Linked DNA regions of Homo sapiens: all the other regions are linked to region 3. Evidence: promoter capture Hi-C in human tissues and cell types (Jung and others, 2019). All regions are on one chromosome and are shown on one strand. The core of a region is centred on a gene start or on the middle of the fragment in contact, and the rest is flanking DNA. Distances in the headings are between cores, read along the strand shown.

Evidence for each region. Contacts are between HindIII fragments. The study calls those that stand out against the background at their distance.
Region 1: a fragment that was not itself captured here is called in contact with the fragment with the promoter of TMEM200C in region 3 in 1 of the 25 tissues and cell types used here (hippocampus).
Region 2: a fragment that was not itself captured here is called in contact with the fragment with the promoter of TMEM200C in region 3 in 1 of the 25 tissues and cell types used here (dorsolateral prefrontal cortex).

What each region holds. Positions count from the first base shown.
Region 1 is chr18:7,029,424-7,033,194 of GRCh38, forward strand. LAMA1 (laminin subunit alpha 1) reads right to left here. Exons shown (of 63, transcript NM_005559.4): 15 at 3,561-3,672; 16 at 2,643-2,753. Among named protein-coding and RNA genes, the nearest start is that of LAMA1, 86 kb to the right of the region's middle. The HindIII fragment of the contact is 6,276 bases long and covers 1-3,771 here.
Region 2 is chr18:6,905,246-6,908,923 of GRCh38, forward strand. The region is part of intron 16 of ARHGAP28 (Rho GTPase activating protein 28); the gene reads left to right. Among named protein-coding and RNA genes, the nearest start is that of LINC00668, 23 kb to the right of the region's middle. The HindIII fragment of the contact is 3,706 bases long and covers 307-3,678 here.
Region 3 is chr18:5,894,002-5,897,686 of GRCh38, forward strand. It overlaps TMEM200C (transmembrane protein 200C), which reads right to left and starts at 1,521. Exons shown (of 2, transcript NM_001395400.1): 1 at 1,029-1,521. All of the region lies in intron 9 of MIR3976HG (MIR3976 host gene), which reads left to right. It overlaps LOC121725015 (a long non-coding RNA gene), which reads left to right and starts at 1,726. Exons shown (of 3, transcript NR_172505.1): 1 at 1,726-2,085. The HindIII fragment of the contact is 12,914 bases long and covers 1-3,685 here.

The DNA.
Region 1 (3,771 bases), core at 623-3,122, 1.1 Mb after region 3:
CTGCAATTTCATTTTAAAAATATTTGATAATGCTCATTTGGAACATGTCTATGGTATGTTTTCTTTGATCAAGGAGTCAGATAGTGCTTTCTTTCTCTTTGGGGAAACTAGTATGTAGTTCTGTTGAAAAACCCACTGAGGGTCTGTTTCAGTGCTTTTTCAGGCGTGTGCCACCAGCCCTTTACCTGACTGTCCCTGTTGGTGAATCTGGTATGTGAAGGAATGAGACTATTCCTCTCCTTGGGGAGGAAAAACATCTTTCGATTGAAAAAAGAAAGACATGAGGGCCCAAGACATGCACAATTTACTGTGATGCCATTCTCTTTTCTAAATCATGCCAAGCTGCAAGGAAAATACACAGACTTCTCCTTTGAATAAAGAGCTAAGAGAGCTCAGAGAGAAAAACAGGGGCTCTAAGAGCAACTGGAACCTCATCTCTAATGAACTGTGAATAAAGAATTAACTCCTGGAAGCTAGATAGTTATACGCAAGGCCCAGGGCTATGAACAACTACACAAAAGGAAGAATTCAAGCTTGTTTTTACAATATATTAGAAAAAAAAAAACCAGCAAGGTTAGATTTAACAGATATATGATGCTACCACGTTTTTTGTATTTCCTTAAATTCTAATTTAAATTTTTATTATTTTTGCCCTCTCAAACATTAATTAAGAAGGGAGAAATAGTAACTTCAGAGTGGAAAAACCTAGCAGACATCACCTAATTCAAGTGACCCAGATTAAGATCCCCAGGAAGAAGACACAATGATATCCTATCCATCTGCTCTCAATGAGAGGGCACGGCACCTCCACGTCTTCTGGTCAAAAATGTGTAACCTCAACCTAGTCATAAGAAAGCATCAGACAAGCCCTGGCTGGGGGACATTCCACAGAATGCTCAGTGCTCTTCAAAAGTGTCATAGTCATGAAGGACAAGGAAGTCTGAGGAACTTTCCTAGAGGAGAGGAGACTAAAAAGGCAAAGTCACTGAATGGTGTGGGGTCCTGGGTTCGATCCTACAAAAAAAAGGAGCATGAGTGAAAAACTGATGAAATCAGAATGTGGGGTGTAGTTCATCTTATCGTGCTACTTCTTCATTCTGATAACTCCACTCTAGTTATGCAAGATGGTAGCATTAGGGGATGCTGGGGGAAGGTTACTTCAGAACTCTCTGTACTTCTGTAACTCTTTCATAGCTCTTCTGTAAGTCTAAAATTATTTCCAAAACATGTTTAAAGCTATAAAATTATTATTTATTAAAATTAAAGCTTTAAGGCCAGTTGCTATTTAGCATTATCACTTTAATGTGAATATATATTTGTAAACATACATTAATGGAAGCATGAGAAATCTACTCTTTCAGCCTAGCTACAAAAGACATAAGTGGCAGAACCACAGCCTGCTGTACCCCCCACCCCACCCCACCCCAAATGCTGGCAGGAGGCCTTGCAAACCCAAATGGCAAAGGAAAGGAGGTGAAAAAAAAAGCAACCACCTCATCAAGCGGTTGGAAGCTGTGCACCTGAGGAAAGCAATCCTGGAGGGACTGAGTCTGCCCGTAAACCACCCCTTCATGCAATTCCTACAGAAGCTTTACTTACAGAACAAAGGGCAAAACAAAAGTTTTACTTACAGAATAAAGAAAAATTAAGTTCTAAGCCATCCTGGACATAAGCCATCCTGGACATCATTCTAAGATCTTCTCCCTGGGTCTGGTAATTAATTTTCCCTAACTCTGTGACTCAGTCAATCTCTTTTGGAAAAAGCATGAACATTTCCCTGCCAGGCGACCAGGGTACAGCTGATCAGCATATGCAGTCACTCCACCTCTGAGGATCAAACCCATGAGACCCCAGAGTGTGGCCTGGCTTCAGGGCATAGGGCCTAGAAGAATTCCTGATTGAAGTTAAGAAACAAGTCTTGCCCCACACCTGCCCCAAAGTTCATTCTCAAGATTAACTACCTATTTCTTAAGCCCTATTTCAACTCATATTGCATGAAAGAAGTACCTGTTTGATTAATTTATCCCAACTAACTATAAAGCATGGTATATAAGTGAGTGTGATTATACTTTATTCTTCTTCTTAGGGTATATTATGTAATATCATGATTTAAAAAAAATACTAGCATTGTCTGTGGCCTCAGCTACTTGGAGGGTTGAGGTGGGAGGACCATTTGAGCCCAGAAGATCCAGGGCTGCAGTAAGCAGTGTTGGTGCCACCACACTCCAGCCTGGGTGACAAGGTAAGACCCTGTCTCAAATAAATAAATAAATAAATATTAGCACTGTCATCTAAAGATCCTATGCTTTGTATTTAATAAGTAGACAACATTTTTTTACCTTTCTATTGCTTTATAGTCTCAGCAAATAAAAACAATTACTTTATATTAATCTAATAAAAAGAACTATAATGAAGTTGTATATCCCTTTTCCACTATTACCAAAGTAACTTTTTTCAAAAAAAAAACAAAAAAAAAAACGGGAAACATTTCATGACATGAGCTTAAATCTGTAAATTTTCTTTGGGGTCTATGAGGCTAGGGTTATTCCGTGGAGGAAGCACTTAAAAAAAAATCACTTGTACACAGCAAATGGCTCTGAATTGAGGAGGAGAGGGCACCTGAACTACAGTGAGAGACTCACAATGCAAACGCCGTGAACATTACACTCAGCTGCATGGCCGTGGCATTCACAGGGTTGACAAATTCCTCCAAAGAGTATTCCATCCACGCGGTAATAGCCAGAGAGGCACGACTGCAAGAGAAGGGAAAGTCATCCTCTTTCCACTACGTTACAAACAGAAACTGCTCAGTTGCCAGAGTACAGAAATGTCTTTTTTCTTAAACATCTTAACTGAGGTATCATTTACATGCTACACAATTCACCCATTTTAAGTGTACAATTCAATGACTTTTAGTAAAAACCTTACCGAGCTGTGCAACCATCACCATAATCCAGTTCCTTATTTCTTTTTAAAGGTAGAAACACACACACAAAAACGTAATGGTTGTGCAATGAGTCTTACGGCCTATTCTTGTTATGGTATTAATATCAATATGTTTGTCCAAGTGATTTCAAAATATTTTTAGCAACAGATTACTTTCATTGAGGATTCCAAGCGCATTTTCATATATTTCACATGTAAGGTGGAGCCCACCAAAGTAAAATAGCGAGGGGCCATAAAAGGTCTCAAAATAGGGCTGGCTTGTCTAAAGCTACCCAGGTCACATGCTGGTGATTTGTAAATGTTCAGATATGATCAAGTTCCATCCTCCTTAGAAACACAGTCAATGGCATGAGTATTGCAAGTTTCTTGTTGACTAAGGCAAGAGGGCAGCACTAAGTCAGAATATTGTCCGGTGCTCCAGCCCATTCCTGGTGGAGGAATCTGATTTTTTTAAACAATGTGACTTCTAATATTTCTATTGCCCAAAAAAGACTGAGCCAAACATTGGGCTGCTAAAGCTAAAAATCAAATGTTTGCCATGACATCCCCTTCAGTGCACTGTTTTCCCCTTAGGAAGGAACGAAAGGAAAAAGACAGGAAGAGAGAAGCGTCACCTCACAGGAGGTCCCTGTGTAGCCTTGCGGACATTCACAGTGCTCCACATCAGCGGCCACCACCAGGTCGATGGCATTAGAGCTGGCTATGTCCAGAGAGACGGACTCCAACCTACAAATAGACAGATTGTTATGTGACTCACACGCTCGCAAATACATCTCACATCTCAATGAAGATGGGCTCCTAAAAGATTTAAATCCGGCCGGGCGC
Region 2 (3,678 bases), core at 910-3,409, 1.0 Mb after region 3:
ATGCAAGGTTGATTTAACATTAAAAAATCAATCAATGTAATTAGCCATATCAACAGGAGAAACCATAGAGTCATTTCAATTGATACAGAAAAAAGCCTTTGACAAAATCCAACACCGAGTCATGATAAAAACTCTCAGAAAACTAGGAAAAGAGGAGAACTTAACTTGATAAAGATTATCTACAAAACCTACAGCTAACATCATCCTTAACAACGAAGGATTGAATGCTTTCCCTCTAAGAGCACGAATAAGAATGCCCACATTCATCAATCTCATTCAACATACTACTGGAATATTAAGTCACTGTAGTAAGGGAAAGAAAAGAAATGGGAGGCATACAAGTTATAAAGGAAGGAATAAAAGTCTATTTGCAGATGACCTAATTATCTACATATAAAATTTCACAAAATAAAAATTTAAAAAGACCTAGAAGTAATAAGTCAGTTCAGTAAGATCACAGGATACAAGATTAACACACAAAAATCAATCACATTGGAACATGTGGAAACCAAATTTAAAACCAAAAGTAAAAACACAATACCCTTTACAGTCACTCTAAAAATAAATACTTAAGTATAAACTTAAGTAAACCTTTACAGGATCTGTACACTGAAAATTACAAAATGCTGGTGAAAGAAATTAAAGAAGACCTAAAGAAATGGAGAAACATATCATTTTCATGGATTGGAAGATAACACAGTAAAGATATCAATTCTCCCCAAATTGATCTATGAGTTTAATGCAATTCCTGTCAAAATTCCAGCATGATACTTTGTAAACATGCACAAGCTTATTCTACAAATATATATGGAAAAGCACAGGCCCTAGAATAACTAAAATATATTGAAAAAGAAAAATAAAGTAGGAGGAATCACTTTACTAGATATTAAGGCTGATTATATAAAAGGTAGAATAATCAAGATAGTATGATATTGGTGGAAGGATAGATACTTAGATCAATGGAATAGAATACAGAACCCAGAAATTGACCTACACAAATAGGCCCATCTGATTTTTAAAAGATTTTTATTGTAAACTATACATAACATAAAAGTATGTTTTAACCATTTCAAAGGGACAGTTCAATAGCACTAAATACATTCACATTGTTGTGCAACCATCACCGTCATTCATACCCAAAATCTTTTTCTCATCCCACACTGAGACTCTATACCCATTCTCCCTGCCTTTAGCCACTGGCAACCATTCTTCTCCTTTCTGTCTCTCTGAATTTGACTATTCCAGCAACTGATTTTGAGAAAACTACAAAAGCAATTTGATGGAGGAAGCCTTTTCAGTAAATGGTGTTGTAGCAATGGACATCCATAGGCAAAAAATAAATAAATAAACCTCGATCTAAACCTCACACCTATTCAAAAATTAACTCGAAATGGATCACAGACTTAAGTGTGTAGTGTAAAACTATAAAACCCTTAGAAAATAATGTAGGAGAAAACATTTATGATCTAAAACTAAAGAGTTCTTAGAGCTTGACATAAAAAATGTGACCCATAAGAAATAAAATTGATAAATTGACCTCACCAAAATGGAAAACTTATACTCTAAAAGACCATGTGAATAGGATGAAAAGACAAACTAAGGACTGGGATGAAATATTTGCAAAACCACATATCCAACAAAGGACTAGTATCTAGAATATATAAATAAAACACTCAAAGTTCAACAGTTAAAAAAACCAAACAATCCAATTTGAAAGTGGGCAAAAGACATGAACAGACACTTTACTAAGGAGATACAGATTACTTTTCACCAAAGAGATAAACAAATGGCAAATATGCCCATGAAAAGATGTTCAACATCGTTGGCCATTATGGAAATGGAAATTAAAACCACAATTGCATATTACTACACACCTGTGAGAATGGCTAAAATAAAAAATAGTGACAACACCAAATACAGGCAAAGATACAGAGAAACGGGATCACTCATTCATTTCTGGTGGGAATGTCAATAGTGCAGTCACTCCATAAAATAGTTTGGCAGTTTCTTAAAAAACTAAATCTCCAACTGCCGTATGACCCAGCACTGACACTCCTGGGCATTTATCCCAAAGAAATGAAGACCATGTTCACACACAAACCTGTTCACAAATGCTGATAGCAGCTTTATTTGTACAGTCAAAAACTGGAAAAAAAAAAAAAAAGCCTAGGTGTCCTTCAACAGGTGAGTGACTACAGAAACTGGCCCATCTATACCATGGAATACTACTCAGCAATAAAAATGCAGCAACTTGGGTAGATCTCTAGGGATTTATGCCAAGTGGGGAAAAAAAGGCAATACAAAAATGTTTCATACTGTGTGTTTCCATTTGTTTAACCTTTGTGAATTGACCAACTTACAGAAATGTAGAATAGGGAAGTGCTGCTGGGGGTGAGGGATGGAGATAGGGTAGGATGGGGAGAAGGAGTGAATGTGGCTATAAAGAGGCAACAGGGGGTGCCTTGTGGGGCTGGAAATGTTCTGCATCTTCCCTGAATGGGTGTCAACATTCTGGTCATGATACTGCACTAGAGTTTTGTGAGATGTTACTATTGAGAGAAATCGGTGTAGGGTGCACAGGATGCACCTGTATTACTTCTTAAAACTACGTGTGAATCTACAGCACCTCAAATGAAAGTTCAATTAAACAAAAAACAACAACAAAAAAAGAGGGCACACTTGCATCTTCCTCACAGTGGAGAGGCCAGGACAATCATTTGAAGTAACCAAGCTGAAAGTCACTCCTTGATGGGGATGGAGGTCAGCGATGGTCATTCAGACTCTTCTAACCCAGCATTCTAGTCTAGGGTGGAAAAATTAAATTGAGCGATAGTTTCCTGTGACTTGCTTTTATTTTATTTTATAGTTTATTTTATTTTGTTTTATTTTATTTTATTTTATTTTATTTTCGAGATGGAGTTTCACTCTGTCGCCCAGGCTGGAGTGCAATGGCACGATCTCCACCCACTGCAACCTCCTCTTCCCGGGTTCAAGCAATTCTCCTGCCTCGGCCTCCTGGGTAGCTGGAACTACAGGCACATGCCACCACGCCCGGCTGATTTTTTGTATTTTTAGTAGAGATGGGATTTTGCCATGTTACCCAGGCTGGTCTCAAACTCCTGACCTCAGATGATCCACCCGCCTCAACCTCCCAAAATGCTAGAATTACAGGCATGAGCCACCGTGTCCGGCCGTGACTTGCTTTTATTATGGGGCAGAGACTTGCAATGAAGTCAGCCTTAGACACCTTGCAAAGCTTGAGGCAAACTGAGAAATGTGACATGGGCTGATAATTCCATTCAATTTTTTGGCAAATGCAGAAATAAAACCTGACTTCTTTTGGATTGAGAGTAATATGGCCAATGACAAGGCAGTACTAAACACGCAGCTGCTCCGTGTCCAGCCTTGATGTGTCAGTAACAGTAACTAACCTGAAATGGAGCAGGCAGCTGTGGCCTGAATGGGCTCTATGTAGTGGAGCACTGCGGCTGCCCATCCTGGTGGGAGCAGTCCCGTCCTCCCTGGGCCTCAGCTTCTTGTCTGTGTCAGACGGAAAAACAATTATTTTTATCATAACTTCAGTCATGATACAGTTTTGTGGGACACATTTCGTCAAGGCAGAATGAATTGTTTGTTGCCTGGTTATTTAACATGCATTTTTACCTCAGATCAGGAAAA
Region 3 (3,685 bases), core at 271-2,770:
TGATCCTTGGAGTCCAGCATCTTAAATAATCTGGAGATCCGTGGTTATCTTAAGAAGGCTTTAAGGACCAGACATTTTTTAGAAGCGAACTCAGACTCAGTTGGCAGGGTGGCTCTCCCACCGCAGAAAGGCTACATGTTTTGTTGGGCATTGATCAGGTGCGCCGGGAGGCTGGATGCCTTGGGGGAGGAGGAAACCCACTTGGATTTCTCCTCAGCAAGGCAGCTTTGGCTCCGGTAGAATGTAAGGAAGGTTGGAATGGATTTCAACAGTCCTTTACCGCACATCTTTAAAATGAGTTTAATAGCTAGTAATTAACTCCCTCGTTTATTATTCCTTCAGCTCTGTTGAAGGCTGTACTCCCTTTTAATGTATCATCATCTGACACGAAATACAGACAAAGGTCAGATGCCACGGGAGACCCACCTTTGAGGTTTTCCTTTATACCTAATGAAAGAAAACAAACTTAGCAGTCAAGCTTGGCTGCCCTCGCAATTTACTGCCTGGAGCTGGTCTTACCGTGGTTAAAGAATGGAGGATGGGGGAAGCAAAGGAGGGATGTCTAAAAATACAACTGCTTCCAAGAGAGACATTCAAGTTCTCCGCTCAAGATGGATTAAGCCCCACTCTGAGGCTCGGAGGCTCGGATCCCACAGGCTGGGAGCGCTGTGCTGTGCCCGGTACCCAACCCAGGTCCTCGACCCCGGCCCCTCACTGGCAGGGCGGCGACCCCCTGGCCCCTGGCTTTGGTCTGCTTATTGATGTTAGCTGGAGTCACATGAGTGCAGCAGCTGGGAGTCCGCCTCTGGAAAGAAGACAGGCAGGAGCCAAGTGAGGGCAATCCTGAACTAGCTTTTTCTGGGCAGCGCATCCCGTGTAGCCAGCCCGGGAAAAAGCCTCTCACCGAACACCAGCCCGGGGCGCGGGGACTCGGGGACCCGAGGGGCGGGGAGGGGCCCCCAAGGGCTGGGGACTGGCAGAATTGCTCAAAATGGCAGCACTCTCCGCACGCAAGATCGCTCACTTACCCAGGGAGACCGAGGGAGGTCGGGGCCGGCGAACGGGCGCTCGGGCGACACAAAGGAACCATGGAGAAACTTTTTCAGCCCGAGCCGACGGCGGAGCGCAGGGACAGCGCCCCGGGGCCCCGCATCCGAGCGCGACTCAGCAGCCCCGCGGGGGCGAGCGCCCGCCCCAGGCTCGCAGTCCCCGCCGGCGCTGTGGCGGGAGCCATTTCCAAGAGTTTCCAAGAAGTGTCAGGTCCTCCGCATCCCGCATCCCGCATCCCGCCTCGGAGCCCTCCTCTCCGCCGCTCATCCTCCAGCTCCCGGCGTCCCCTAGCGCGGCGCTCCCGGGCGGGCCCCTGCGGCCGCGCCGCCGGCCCTCGCGCCTCTTTTGTGTGGCTGCGGCGCGCCGGGCTCCGCCGGGTGGAGTTGAGCCCGCGGCGGCGGCTCGGGGCGGCCGGACTGGCGGCTGTTGCTAAGAGACCGGAGCCATGACACAGGGAAATTGCGGCAGGGTGGCGGTCGGGGCCCGCCCGGCTCGGCGGAGTCGGGGGGCGCCCCCGCCCCCGCCCCCCGCCCCACCCCCTCCTCCGGCGCCCCCCCCCACGCCGCCGGCCTTCCCCGCTCCCCCGCGTCCTCCGCCGCCCGCCGCCCGTCCCTTCGGAAGCGCCGATTCCTCGGGGAGGAGGAGGCGTGAGGGGAGGCGGCGGAGGCAGCCGGCACGGGGCGCTCGGGCCGCGGGGCAGGGGGCGCGGGGTGCCTCCTCGGCCTCGGCTCTCCCCGCCCCGGGGCGCCCCGAGACCGCCGCCTGCCTCCGCGGGCAGCTTTGTTCTTCTTTCCTCCAACTACCTGTCTGAGCCGCGGGCCCCAGAGGCCCCAAAGAGAGGCCCGGAGGGTCTCCCCAGCAGCATCCGAGGGGCGCTCTCGGGGAGCTAGGGGCCAGAGTCCGCGGTCCCTCCGTGCCTGCCTCCCTCCCCTCGTGCCTCGGTCTTTTGTTGCCTCTACTCCTCGGCACGGCGCAGCCTGGGCTCTCTTCCCCCTCCCGCTTGGGAGTTTGCAGTGTGGACGCTCGGCAAGCACAGTAAGTTGTCCCCCAGCGAACTCGGGCCCGGGCGGAGTGGAGCCGCCCCCGCCGGGACGGGCGCACCGCGGGACGCTTGGAAGCCTCTGCCAGATGCGCTCGCGCTCCAGCCCCGCCGGGCTTTGTGACCAGCCTGACCGGGACCCGGCAGCTGGGGCTCCTCGGAGATCAGAATGGGCTCCGGGGCTCTTCCTTGGGCAGCCCCTCCTGCTCCTCCCCGGTGCGGTAATCAGCAAGCATTAAAAGGAAAACTATAATTCTCCAGGAATCAGGAATCAGGGTTGGAATCAGAGAGGGGAGGTGGGGGTAGGGAGGATGTCCAAACTCCCTACGTCATTTAAAAAAGAGAGAAGGCGAGAGAGAGAGAGAAAGAGATCGAGATCCTGTTTCCTAGTTCATCCCTGTCTTCTCAACTGTAAAGTAAAAATGACAGGGAAAAGAGAATTTCAAAGTGGAATTTCCCCAAAGAGTATTGAGAAAGTGAGAAAGATTTCATTTATCTATTGAAATGAGGCAGCCAGGATTCAGGAAGAAAGGAACAGAAGAGCAGATGAAGCAAGTGCTGTCTGAAATTTTGGATCCAGATAAATATTTTGGTGGTGGTGGGTGTTATATATTCTGAGTTTTGCTGCTTAGGGGTCCACAAAACCCACACAGGAGGGCTCTGCTGCCCGCAGCTCCTGTTACAAGATTGTTCCCCACATACACAGCATTCACTTGTGCTTAAATCTAGAGCAGACACTTTTCAAAAAGAACAATAAAGACAACCAATTTACAAGTTCAATGATATAAATGTGAACAGTGATCTAAGAGATGGGGATAGAGACGGTGGGGGACAGGAGGGAACGAAGCAGAAGTGTTTTCTAAAAGGCAACCCTGCATTCACCTGTTGGAAAGGTGGCCTCTGTCACCCTTTTCAAGCAAATAACGAATCTGAATGATGATCAGGGTGTCCGGAACCCACCGCCTTCCCCCTACCTATTCATGCTCAGATTCAGGCTATTAGAAAACAAACCATAATGAAGGGAAAGTTTTAAATCCCACATTGGGTTGTTTCCTTTTAGAGAAATCACTGCAAAGGAAAAATAATAAGATCTAGTTGTCGTTTTCTAAAGCCTTTTTGGCTCTGAACTTCCAGATCTCCTGAATCCCAATAATAATCTGGTATTTTTTACAAAGATTGGGCCTACAGTCTCATTTCATTGCACAGCTAGCTGCCAGAGTCTATGGGCGGCAGTTCCTGTGCTCTGTTTGCTGGGCTGTACAAACAGGAATAATACTGCAGAACTTCATTAGGATTTTAGGTGGATTAAACTGCTAATAGTTTCAAGTTTCTGTGTAAATTATAGCCATCATTTGCACATTTAAAACTCATTTGAGGGATTTGGAGAAGAAAAGAATTCTTTTCTAGACAAAGGGCCTTGGGACATAGCTAGTTTTGTCTTATGTTGATGATTGCAACAAAATTTATGGCTTATTACTCAAAGGCTTCCTTCCAAACTGCGCTTTTTGGAACTTTGAACTGTTTAACCTGAATGTTATCACGTTCAGTAGTTTTCTTTGTTTTCAGCTCATGGTATCAGAGGAAATCAAGCAGATC